Linked DNA regions of Homo sapiens: region 2 is linked to region 1. Evidence: promoter capture Hi-C in human tissues and cell types (Jung and others, 2019). All regions are on one chromosome and are shown on one strand. Each heading gives the region's core, a stretch centred on a gene start or on the middle of the fragment in contact. The rest is flanking DNA. Distances are from core to core; before and after follow the strand shown. Region 1 holds the start of JAK1 (Janus kinase 1). Region 2 overlaps CACHD1 (cache domain containing 1).

Region 1 (6,695 bases), core at 1,390-3,889:
ACTAGATGCCTACCAGTAGCACCGCTCCCTTCCCCCAAGTTGTAACAACCAAAAATGTCTCCAGAAACTGCAAATATCTCATTGGGTGCAAAATCATACCCTTACTAGTCTAAAAAAATCTGAAAGTTCCTTCCAACACTCCTGTTCAATGACAAGGTTCCATATACCACTGAGCCACAATAATCACAGAACATCCAATGTTCCTTCTTCAGCGAGATTCCATTAATAAGCCAATTCCCCATCCACTTAAAATAATGGTTTTAAATGTGAAAATGAACAAGAAAAATTTATTTGTATGAATATTCACATCTCAGACAATAAATCTTCTAACAGCATGCTATTATCTTATCAGGACATAAGGACATACAAAATGGGATGTGTCTTTGAGGGGAAAAAAACACCAGAGGAATCTGAGAATTAGAAAACACAGATCATGGTCTTTGCTATGCAGTTATACCTTAGTGTTCTCTTGTTCTCTCTACACAAATGAGTATCAACCTACACGTTCTCAATGCTTGTTTCAGTCGGAAGTATATGGCTTTAGCCAAGCTCATGTTAAGATCCTAAATTACAACAACTGAAATGTAGTTATATTTTAGGAAATGTTTGAATTATTTTACCTATATCTAATTTATGCATTCTCTACAATCATTTCCCAATGGTAGTAAATAATTAGTATAGTATGAAATGGAGGAAACCATTTAAACTGGCTGTATTCAGTGTGGAGTATCACACTGCAATCCTAGCAGTAAAAAAACATAGTTTTGTATCTATTTGCAGAAACTAAGACTCAGTCAAAGCACTTAGTTAATATGATATACAGAATTAAGAAGAGGTTATGATTATTCCTATTTATAATGTCCAAAGTCATTCCAGTATGATGTCTTCACATCTTTAAATGTGATCTGGATCTATACAGGGGAGACATTTTCTCCACATTACAAAGCATATTGTACCAGAAATGTCTGGAACCCTGGTGGTCTCCATTAATCTTCACCACAAAGTACAAAAGAACACATTGATCCTTCAATGAAAATAATCCCCTGGTCTTGGAAAACATCAGAGTCACCAAAAGCAAAATCAAGAAACAACACATAATGGGGTTTTGGAAAGGGAAGAACAAAGATTCAATCAATACGAATTGCTCATCTTAAACAAAATCTACTGTGCCTATACCCATATTTAACTCAAATCTTTTCTTCAAAAAATAAAAAAATAGCCAAAACCAAACACGCCCTGATTTACATCTCTCTCTGCATTATTCTCATCACTTAACTACCCATGTTTTACTCCCTGAAAGAAGTAATGACAATTTTATACCACTGTAAATTCCTGCCAGTGAGAGAAAAACCCTATGACTTGGGGGGAAAAGTGTCAATGACATGTATAGCGATGTACTCAACCAGGGGCAGAAGGCAGCTCACAGCCACGTAGTAAGAAGAGTGGCAGGAAGGACGGGGTCCCCTTCCCCAGGAACACACAGGAAATCATGGAGTGCAAACCCTCCAAAAAACGTGTGCACAAACACCTGGCAAACATCGCATCTTTTATCTAGAAGTTCCGTGGTAAACACACATCCAAGGAGCCCACATCCCAGGGACCCTGGGGAGTGACTTTGGAGGAGTGTCTATTAGTCCTCCGATGCTCCCGGTCGCCGACGATGCGCGGATGGAGTTGGAGTGAGGGAGCCAGAGACCAGCCCCAGTTTCGGTTAATCAGTCCCTTTCCAGTGGGATTCGCAATTCCCCGGGTAGTTCTCTCCCACTGTTCCCCTTCCCTGGTCCTCTCGCCCAGGGTCTCCTTTCCCACTTCTCGCTGGCTACCTGAGGCCTGGTTCCTAACAGAACCTAAGAGGGGAGGGGGCGTTTCCCGAGTTCGCGGACGCCCAACACCCAGCTCCAAATCCCAGAAACTTTCCCTCGCTGAGACCGCAAGGAAGGAAAAAAGCTAAGACCCTCAGCCTCCTTCCTGGGGCCGAAGAAGAAAACCTTTCTGCGCTGCCACCCCGGCCGGGAGCTGGCGGTCAAGTTCGCGGTACAAGGAGCTAGGGACGTCAGCCCTCCAGCCCGCGCCTGTATCTCGGGGTGGTATAAACAGGATGTCAGACAGCGCGCTCCGGGCTTGTTTATGAAAACTTGCCGTGCGCGCTGGGGGAGGGGGCGGCCTGGCTTAACCGCTCTTCTCCCGGCCGGGGGCCCCCGCCCGGCGACCTCCTCGCCGCCCGCCGGCTCCGCGGGGCTGGAAATCCCCGCCTTCCCCGCCCGAGCCGCGGGGTCCTGAGCTGCGCTCAGGAGCAGCCCGGGCCGCGCAGCCTAAGGACCGACCAAGAGCGGTGGCCGCGCCTCCGGCCAGTCCGGGCTGCGCGCCCCTCGCCTGCCGACCGCGGCCGCCCCGGCTCCTCCACCTCCCCCGGTGACACTCACCACTTCCGTGTGCGCCTGGGCCAGGCAGCGCCCCGTCGCTGCGCTGGCTGGGGTCGACCGGCAGGCTCGCTAGGCGGCCAGCCCCGCGGGGCCCCAGCGTGCGCGCGCCCAGGGCTGAGGAGGGGTCGCGGCGAGGACAGCCGGGACTGGGCGCAGGCCCGCACTGTCTGCAGCTCCAGGATACTCCGCGGCCGCCGCGGCCTGCGCTCAGCGACGCACCGCCTCCCGTCCCGCCCCGCCCCGCCCCGCGGCCGGCCCCACCCCCGTGGCCGCCGGGCCCACCCCCTCGCGACGTCACCAGCGGCAGCCCCGGAAAGCGGGGCGGGGTCGCGGTCCCGGCGGAGACTCTGCGCCTCCGGCCTACCCGCCCCGCCCCCATCCGGCTTCGCTCGCGAAGCTGCCCCCACTCGTCTCTGTTCACCGCGTCCTCTAGATTCTAGAATCTAGAAACTCATCTAGGACGCGAGGTCATCTATCGCGGGGAGTAAAATTGCCAGGATTCGCCCGTAGATTGACCCCTCCCAGCTCTGGAGCCCCCTCCGCCACACCTTTGTGCGCTCGATGCAGAAATGCATCCCGCCTCCTCCGTATACGCTCCGCTTCTTACCCCAGCTCAGTAGGAGAGGAGCTAGTGGAGCACTAGACTAAAAAGAATTTAACAATACAGCCCCCAGCTTGGACAAGCTACTGCAGATCCAACCCATTCCGTATTTTAAAAGCTCTTTACGAAAAAAAAAAAAGCATATGCATAATAGGAATTAGAACTACATTCACTGATACCTAATGCATGTACAGCGCTTTTCATTTTTTACTAATAACCTCTCAAAGTAGTAGCATCATCTTATCCATGAGGAACAAATTAAGTCTTTAGTGTCTTAATCAAGGTCACACTGTAGCCAAGATTCATACTTCGTAGGCAGTCCACGGACAAATCCTAACAATTTTATTTCCTTAGGTATCTCTCCAATCAGTTCACTTGTCTATGTTCCGGCAACACGGTCCGAGCTGCCACCATCTCTCACCTGAAGGGACCACGAACATCTCTTAAATCGTCACTCCATTCACTCCAGCCCCCAATTAATTCTCTACAATGAACTTTTAAAAATTCAAATCTGTTCCACACACTCCCATGCTTAAAACACTCCAGCGACTTCCCCCTGACAATCCCTGGATGAAAATCCTCCGAGGCCGTGCACGGTCAGAATTCTGCAGCTTCAGGGCTGTGGACAGAGGCTGCCCCACCTGTGCTGACTTCACTAACCCTGCTGGACAGTTCCTGATCACTTGAGTTACTGCAACTGAAACTGAGCAAGATATTCTGGGTGTGGAATAAAGTCAAGCATCCGAATTAGACTACTGAATTTGAGGTTTGGCCTCCACCAGTAACCACCTGTGTTGCCCTAAACAATTCTTAGTTGACTCAATTCTCAGTGGAGCAGCAGACAAAAGGATCTCCAAAGTGCCTTCCAGAAGTACAGAAAAGAGGACCAAAGAAGACCGGAGATCAGAGCAGACAGGGAGGCAACCCGGGTTGCCTGCATTGTGGGTGTTTGTGTGCAAGTCTTGTCTCATCTGCCACACTCTGAACAACACCTCAGGGCTGTTTGCATCATTTTCTTCACCTGTTAAATAGGGATAATGCCTTCCTTAAAGGGGTTTTGCTGAAGGTGAACTATGATAATATAGCCCACATGGCATGGGCTCAGGAAGTGGTAGGGGTTTTTATTGAGCTGGACCATAAAGAACAGGTGAGACTGACATGAAGGGAGACAGAGACGTGAAAGAACAGCATTTCAGGTGAGGATGTAAAGAAAAAGGAAAGTCAGGAAGGCAGCAGTGAACCCATTGTGCCCACGAACGAATCTGGCTGTTCACAGGGTGGAATCAGGGGGAGAGGGCCTGGATTCAGTTTAGATCTGTTCGTCTATAACAGACATTGTGCTAGGTGATGAAGATTCAGAGAAAAAAAAAATAGACTAGGTTCCTGACCTCTGAATGCTCAATGCAGTCAGAGAGACAGGCAAGTAACAATTCAGTGATTCCCGGTCCTGTAATGGTGATCACAGAAGACAGTCACCCAGCCGAGTCTGAGGAAGTCAGAATAAGCTTCAAGTAGCCGACAGGAGGCAGGAGTCAGGAGGTAGCGGCATATTCAGGCAGTAATAGTATATGCTGGCTGGGTGTGGCGGCTCATGCCTGTAATCTCAGCACTTTGGGAGGCTGAGGCAGGAGGACTGCTTGAGGCCAGGAGTTTGACACCAACTTGGGCAACACAGCAAGACCCTGTCTCTAAAATAAAAACAAACAAACAAACAAAGGCCAGGTGCAGTGGCTCACGCCTGTAATCCCAGCACTTTGGGAGGCCGAGGTGGGCCAATCACTTGAGGTCAGGAGTTTGAGACCAGCCTGGCCAACATGGCGAAACCCCATCTCTACTAAAAATACAAAAATTAGCTGGACGTGGTGGCGGGAACCTGTAATCTCAGCTACTTGGGAGACTGAGGCACAAGAATCGCTTGAAGCCGGGAGGCAGAGTTTGCAGTGAGCTGAGATTGTGCCACTGCACTCCAGCCTGGGCGACAGAGCGAGACTCCCTCTCAAAAAAAAAAAAAAAAAAAAAAAGGTAAACTAGCTGGGCATGGTGGCACATGCCTGTATTTCCGACTACTTGGGAGGCTGATGCTGGAGGATCACTTGAGCCCAGGAGTTTGAGGCTGCAGTGAGCTAGGATCACACCACTGCACTTTAGCCTGGGCAACAGAGTGAGACCCCTTCTCTTAAAAAAAAAAAATAAGTATATGCTGTGTGACTGGGGAATGAGAAAAGTTGAATCCCATGCAAAAACTTTTGCCTAAAATAAAATAGTGGGTTTTTTTTTTTGAGAGATTTAAGGTTTTTGTTTTAGAAGAATCACCCTAGGGCAAGGGCTCTCAACCTCAGCACTATTGACATTGTGGGCTGGAAAATTCTTGTTGTAGTGGGGGTGTCCTGTGCATTGTAGGATGTTTAGCAGCATCTCTGACCTCTGACTACTAGGTGCTAGTAGCAAGTCCTCTTGTTCCCCCATCACACCCCCCCGCAACTCCCCACCCTCCTCCTTTCCCAGCTGTGACTTCCAAAAATGTCTTCAGACGTTGCCAAATGTCCCCTGGGGTGCAAAATCACACCCCACTGAGAACCACTAGTCTAGGGATAATGTGGAAGATGAATTGGAGGGCAAGGAGATTAATTACATGTCATTGTAAAACTGCAAGCTGCGAGAGATGACAGCCTATCTAAGGCAGTGGACTGGGGAAGGATACTGAGGAAGATGCAAAAGGCCTGAGGAGATAGAATGGACAGTGCTTGGTGACTGATTAGATGTGGCTACTGAGGCAGAGAGAGGAATCTCGCATGACTCCCAAATTTTCTGAATTGGTTAATAAGCTGACCAAGGATGCCACCGACTGGATGCCACCGACTAAACAGGATAAGAAATTCAGTTTTATGTTTGAGAAGAGGAAAGTTTTAAACAGTCACTGAGCCAGGCGTGGTGGCTTAGACCTGTAATCCCAGCATTTTGGGAGTTCAGGAGTTCAAAATGGGTTCAGGAGTTCAAAATGAGACCAGCTTGCGCAACATGGCAAAACCCTGTATCTACAAAAAATACAAAAAATAACTGAGTGTGGTGGCACATGCCTGTGGTCCCAGCTACTCAGGAGTCGAGGTGGAAGGATCACTTGAGCCCAGGAGATCAAGGCTGCAGTGAGCTAGTATGGTGCCACTGCACTGAAGCCTGGGAAACAGAGTGAGACCCTGTCTCAAAAAAAAAAAAAAAAAAAAACGGCCGGGCACAGTGGCTCACACCTGTAATCCTAGCACTTTGGGAGGCCAAGACGGGGTGGATTGCTTGAGGCCAGGAGTTCAAAACCAGCCTGGCCAACATGGTGAAACCCCGTCTCTACTAAAAATACAAAAAATTAGTTGGGCATGGTGGTGGGCACCTGTAATTCCAGCTTCTCGGGAGGCTGAGGCAGGAAAATAGCTTGAACCCGGAAGGCAGAGGCTGCAGTGAGCCAAGATGGCACCACTGCACTCCAGCCTGGGCAACAAGAGAAAAATTCCATCTCAAAAAAACAAAACAAAACAAAAAGGGCCGGGTGCAGTGGTTCATGCCTGTAATCCTGCAATCCCAGCACTTTGGGAGGCCAAGGCAGGTGGATCACCTGACGTCAGGAGTTCAAGACAAGCCTGGCCAACATGGCAAAACTGTCTCTACTAAAAATACAAAAA
Region 2 (6,695 bases), core at 2,570-5,069, 280 kb before region 1:
ACTCAAAGCCTAACTAAGCATCTGTTTATCTTCCGCCAACCCCCTTCCCACTGTATTCCCTCCCATCTCACCATCCTTACTTTCTTCCCCACTTGGGAAATCTTAACAAGAAACATCTTCTTGCTCTTTCACTGAAGGTGATGAGGTGATCACATTAAACATGATTAAAAGCGCCCCTGTGGGTCCTGTGGCTGGAGGGATCATGGGATGCATCATGGTCTTGGTCCTGGCGGTGTATGCCTACCGCCACCAGATTCATCGCCGGAGCCATCAGCATATGTCTCCTCTTGCTGCCCAAGGTGAGCTCAAAATGAACCCCACAGGGGAGGCAGCAGCCAGGCTAGAAGGACAGTGGCGGGTTGTGTAAGCCTCTAAGGAACTGTCAGAACAGTGCTATACTTTCAGCTTCTGTGGAGTCATTTTGGAAGTTCCCAAAGCCTGCTTTCTTCTTCAGTGCCTAAACCCTACAAGCTCTATTTTGATCCCCGGAAAAATCCCTGGATCCTCTCCTTACCAGCATTAGCCCCCAGTGGCCTGCCTCTGCAATAAGCCAGTCAGGGGAGCTGGGATGCTGAGTGGGAAATTTTGTTTGTTAGATGTGCTGCCCTTGCAATTCCAAAAAGACAGGCAAATCAAAGATACCCCAGATCACTAATGGCAAGAATATAATCTGTTCGATTGCAGCTGCCATTATGTAGTGTGAATAAACACACATTTGAATAATCACATCTCTTAAAACAGGATAAGTCGGCCAATCGCGGTGGCTCATGCCTGTAATCCCAGCACTTTGGGAGGCCGAGGTGGGTGGATCATTTGAGGTCAGGAGTTCAAGACCAGCCTGGCCAACATGGTGAAACCCCGCCTCTACTAAAAATACAAAAACTAGCCGGTGCGGTGGCACCTACCCGTGGTCTGAGCTACTTGGGAGGCTGAGGCAGGAGAATCGCTTGAACCCAGGAGATGGAAGCTACAGTGAGCCAAGATCGCGCCATTGCATTCCATTCTGGGCGAAAGAGTGAGACTCCATCTGAAAAAAAAAAAAGTCATCGAAGCCAAGTACAAAATGATTCACCTATAATCATGGCCTCAATACCACGTGCAGTATCTATACTCTGTTTAAGTGCAGTATCTGTACTCTGTTTGCAGGGAACAAAACTGTTTAATGGCCATCTCCATCCTTCCTAAAACCCCAGTCCCCGGGGATGTGTTGACCTGACCTTTTTGGAGGTGAAGTTAACTCATCTTCCTGGCCACTTAGCTCACTCTAACAGCTGTAATGACAGGTTGATGTTAAAGCATTTCACTATGGCCACAAGCCTGAAGGGGAATCATGGAGTAATGTTACCTGATTTAGTAACAGGGATAATCACCATGTGCTTCCCTTGGTGAGATTCAGCTAGACTGAGGATGACCGTCATCCAGTGTTAGCTTATGCCTGGCCTTTTGGAGGCTTTTGTTGCACCATTTCACCAACACAGTCAGTCATTTTTCAATCCCTTTCCTTCTGTTTCAGTACTTTAGTAGAGGATTAAAGATTTGTTGGCCTCAATCAACTTCTTTTCTCCTCCTTTCTCAGAAATGAATTTCAGATGTCTCTTGATTACTTGTTCTTCTTGTTTGGATTCCTGCTCCCTCCTCCTTTAAAAAAACATGGGGCATCAGTTCATTCCCTTCTAAGATGGGATTCATTCTTGATGGAATGCTGTCACCCAGCCATCAAACAAGTGCTCAGCAGGGTATTAAAGCGGGTGATTTTGTTTGATTAAATAGTCATGTTTCTCTCTTTTTAATGATGGGTAGAAATGTCAGTGCGTATGTCCAACCTGGAGAATGACAGAGATGAAAGGGACGACGACAGCCACGAAGACAGAGGCATCAGTGAGTATTCAGCTGCCTTGCTGCAGAATGTGTCAGCAGGAGGCTAATCCAGAATAAATATTCTTTCTTATATCCTTTTGGCTTGTATTAAAATTTAAGAAGCTTTGACACGGTGGCTGGGTTTTTTTAGTTGTTTTTTTCCATCCTTTTTTGTTAGGAGTACGTGTAGGTCTTTGTTTTAGAGAATCTCAAAAGATTTTATTGTGTTTTTTTTTTTTTTTTTTTTTTTGCATTAAGTGTGTTGGCCTAAAACAGCTCACCCTTTCCTTTGTTTCTCTTGCTCATTATTTTCCAACCATAGTATTTTAGAAAAGGAAGTTTCAGGTATGCATTTTTTAAAAAATCCCTTAACTAGTATGTACAACTCAGGGAGGAAAAAAGAGCATTTTCTTTATCAAAAGAGATTTCCATTAGTGTTAAGACACCCTGGCCTTCAGCTACTAGACCATAGCTTCCTGATGCACGTTGGAGATATATAATTAAATACCTCTCACTGCACCAGTTCTAAAATCAGCACCCCAATCCCCAGAATTGTTTAAAAAATGATTTATTCTGGCTTTCCAAAGAGAATTCTCCCAGCATGTAAATGAGCCCTCTCAGAGCAAATGTGTTTGAAACAATGGAGATACTGGCATAAGAGTGACATTAACTGTCCTTGGCTTCCTACAGTCAGCAACACTCGGTTTATAGCTGCGGTCATCGAACGACATGCACACAGTCCAGAAAGAAGGCGCCGCTACTGGGGTCGATCAGGAACAGAAAGTGATCATGGTAAGGTCTAGCTTCCTGCATTTGAAGACCCAAGGAACCTCATGTACTCCTGTGGGATGATGCTCACACCCTATTTTGACATGGTTTTCCAAAAAGACACACCCCAGCATGCCACTGGTTTATAAGAGCCCGAGGACAGTTTTACTTATGTCTCAGCACTCCTCTGGGCACACAGATTGCTTTCAAGTTTTTCTCCATACAGAAGGATTCATATTGTTTAAATGGAGCCTGCTTGCCATCCCACTTGCTTTTCCATAAAATCAGCATCCTCTTAGGTCCCGCTCTCCAGTGTTGGCTGGCAAACAGCAGGATCTTTAAGGGCTTTTTCAGTCATGTCCCCTTGGGGCATGACAAGAATCTGTGCTGTCCTCCAGCATTCTCTTGCCCTGACCTCTGGCATGGTCTGGGGAGCTCAGAGAAGGCTTCACCAAAGAAGCAAGAAGCAACATTTGCACTGAGCCTTGAGGGGGTGATTAAAGAAAAGGTAGGGGCAAAGAATATTAGAGGCCAAAGGACCAGTGTTTACAAAGTCATGGAGTTGTGTAAGTGCCTGTAAGATGCTCAGGAAGGGTCAAGGCCAAATCATGAAGAGGCGCCGAGTGCTAGGTAACTTATGAAATCCACCTACTCTGCCAAAGACTTGGCCATCCCACATGGCTTCTCTCCTTCTCAGAGTCCATATCGCTCATTGTTGCAAAGAACAGCAGATGTATCCCAGTCTATAAGCATCACTGCCACAGTTCCACAAAAATATAACAGATGTGGGTAGTGTTTTTCCTGCCATTGTAAAATCTTTTTTTTTTTTTAAGATAGCTGTTTAATTTTCCAGAAATCTGTATTTTCCTCCTAGAATCAAGTCCTTTTTTAAATACATAAATAGTGTATTTAAGCCTTTTTGACTTAGCTTTTTCCACACCTATCCTGGAAAAAAAAAGTCCTCAAACCTTGTATTCCCTGTATCTACACTAAAAAATGCAAAAATAGATACTCCTCAGAGCAACCAACGTCACCATTTACACTACAGCCAGGTCTTCAAACTCCCTTTGGCAAATAAGAGCAGCTAAAGCTCTGTTTTATAAATTGGAGACTGTTAATTTGGGCTTTGAATGACATTATTCCCACCAACTAAATAGAAACTTCAGGTTTCTATGGAGAACCACAGCAGAACTTAAATTTCTCAGTTTCTTTGACTTTTTTGCTTTTTTCTCTACAAACCTTTGAACTTGCATAAATTCCTGCTGCCAGGCAGTTCTGTGCCTTCTCGTTTGAATAATAAAACAGGTTTGAGGCTACTAAAGTTCAACAGAAATAATTTCTTATTCAGCAGAAATACTGAATCCTTTTCTCTCTCTGAAATACTGAATCCTTTTTCTCTCTGTTCCTCAATAGGAATTGCATCAATACCAAATTAGGATTCTGAGTGATGTTTATGACGTTCCATTAGCCTCTCCCATTGTCTCAGTAAAATGGCATATGAAGCAACAGCTTAGATAAAAGGAAGGGTGCAGTGTCAGTATCTGAACACTAAGGCATCCAGCTAAGGGCTTGGTTCCTTTCATTTTTCTCCATAATTGGATCCATGTTATCCCCAAGGTATGAAAAATAGTTTCTCATGCAGACAGAATGCAACACCAAAAGAAGGGGAAGGCATTGACACTCCCCATATTCCAAATGCATCATAAAATCAATAGAATTTAAATGCGTGTTGGCATCCTTTGAACCAGTACGTGGGTCACTAAAAATGGTGACATTGAGTTAATGTCCCTGTGATGCCTAGAGGCAAAGCTACATACACCCATTAAACAAGGAAATCTAATTGTTTTGTTGGCACACTTCTTGCTCATCTGTGTATGCTCTACTCTCCTATTTGGTGGATGTATTGGCATCTGCTATGCACAGTTATGCACTGCATAACAACACTTCGCATATACTACAGGGGTCCCATGAGATTATAATGGAGCTGAAAAATTTCTATTGCCTAGTGATATCTTGATGATCCTGACCCTGTGTAGGCCTGGGCTAATGTGTGTGTTTGTGTCTTAGTTTTTTTGTGTGTGTGCTTTATTTTTTGAGACGGAGTCTCGCTCTTGTCACCCAGGCTGGAGTGCAAAGGTGCGATCTCAGCTCACTGCACTTCAAAACTGTATCATTCCTTACATATCAAGGATCTCATTTGTGGTAAAAATTTTTTTTGGTATTTTATCGCCATTTAGTCATATTCGTGGATTTTCTTTGTTTTTTCTTCTTCTTCTTCTTCTTTTTTTTTTTTTTTTTTTTTGGAGACACTGTGTCTTAGTTTTTTAATGAAGGAGTTTAAAAAGTGAAATGTAAAAATTTTTAAACTAGAAAAAAGCTTATAGAATAAGGATATAACAAAAGGAAATATTTTTGCACAGCTGTACAATGTGTCTGTATTTTAACCTGTTATTACAAAATAGTCAAAAAGTTTTAAAAGTTTAAAAGTTTATAAAGCAAAAAAGTTACAGTAAGCAAAGGTTTATTATTGAAGAAAGAAAAAAGTTTAATAAATTTAGAGTAGCCTAAATATATAGTGTTTATAAAGTCTACAGTAGTGTACACTGATGTCCTAGGCCTTCACATTCACTCACCAGTCACTCACTGGCTCACACAGAACAACTACCAATCCTGCAAGCTCCATTTATGGTAAGTGCTCTATATAGGTGTACCTTTTTTGTTTTTTGTTTTTTGTTTTTTGTTTTGAGACAGAGTTTTGCTCTTGTCGCCCAGGCTGGAGTGCAATGGTGCGATCTCGGCTCACCACAACCTCCACCTCCTGGGTTCAAGCGATTCTCCTGCTTCAGCCTCCCAAGTAACTGGGATTACAGGCACATGCCACCATGCCCGGCTAATTTTGTATTTTTGGAAGAGACTGGGTTTTTCCATGTTGGTCAGGCTGGTCTCGAACTCCCAACCTCAGGTGATCCGCCCACCCCAGCCTCGCAATGTGTTGAGATTACAGGCGTGAGCCACTGCGCCCGGCCACAGGTGTACCATTTTAAAAAATCTTTTATACGGTATTTTTCTGGTACCTCTTCTATGTTTAGATATATAAATACCTATAGTATTACCTACAGTATTGTGTACAATTGTGTTTTAGTTGCCTACAGTATTCAGTGCAGTAACATGTGGCACAGGTTTGTAGCCTAGAAGAATAGGCTATGCCATATAGCCGAGGTGTGTAGTAGGCTGTATCATCTAGGTTTGTGAAAGTACACTCTGTGACATTTGTGCAATGATGAAATTACCTAAGGACACATTTCTCATAATGTATCTCTGTCATTACACAAGACATGACTGTACCCTTGTACACTGTGGAGGTGGAGGGGGCTACAGATGGGAGTTGTTACTTCCTCAAGACAGCTTGGTGTAGAGGAAGAGCTTAGGAGATAGGGTAAAGCCAGTTCACTTTGAAGCCTACTTCTCCCCCTTTTTTTTCCACAAGCTGTTGAGACCTTAGTGAGCTACCTTAGACCTGAGTTTCCTAACACTTAAGGTAGGATTAAAAATTTTTACTGCAGTCTGGGCAATATGGTGAGACCCTGTCTCTACAAAATAAAAAAATTAGCCAGGCATGGTGGTACGTGCCTGTAGTCCCAGCTACTCGGGAGACTGAGGTGGGAAGATCACTTGAGCCCAGGAGGTCAAGGTTGCAGTGAGCCATGTTAGCACCACTGCACTCTAGCCAAGAACTCTTTGAGCTCTTTGAGACAGGGCTGTCTCAAAAAAAAAAGAAAAAAAAAATGCTGGGTGGAGTTGCAATGAGGATGAAATGAAATGACATATGATAGGCACGGTGCTCAGGGTTGACCTCCCTACCTCTGTGCCCACCCTGCCCTGAAGAAATTTACAGTCTAGGAGGAAGCTATAAATGAATGCATGTATTCATATGCTTGATAAAAGGTGGAATATGACAGCTTCCTTAAAAGAGTAAAACAAAGAAGGAAAGGGGTGAGAGTTCACTTTTATCTGCGAGTAAATTATGGGAAACCCCATGGAGGAACATGGCATTGACTGGCCCTTGAACT

Evidence for each region. The method cuts DNA at HindIII sites, captures the fragments that hold promoters and counts their contacts. A contact is called where the count stands out against the background at its distance.
Region 2: a contact is called between a fragment that was not itself captured here and the fragment with the promoter of JAK1 in region 1, in 1 of the 25 tissues and cell types used here (H1 embryonic stem cells).

The regions. Positions count from the first base shown.
Region 1 is chr1:64,963,910-64,970,604 of GRCh38, forward strand. It overlaps JAK1 (Janus kinase 1), which reads right to left and starts at 2,640. Exons shown (of 25, transcript NM_002227.4): 1 at 2,424-2,640. RefSeq lists a silencer at 1,985-2,864. The HindIII fragment of the contact is 20,952 bases long and covers 1-6,695 here.
Region 2 is chr1:64,679,458-64,686,152 of GRCh38, forward strand. CACHD1 (cache domain containing 1) reads left to right here. Exons shown (of 27, transcript NM_020925.4): 24 at 138-299; 25 at 1,801-1,878; 26 at 2,548-2,649. Among named protein-coding and RNA genes, the nearest start is that of RAVER2, 62 kb to the right of the region's middle. The HindIII fragment of the contact is 5,949 bases long and covers 846-6,695 here.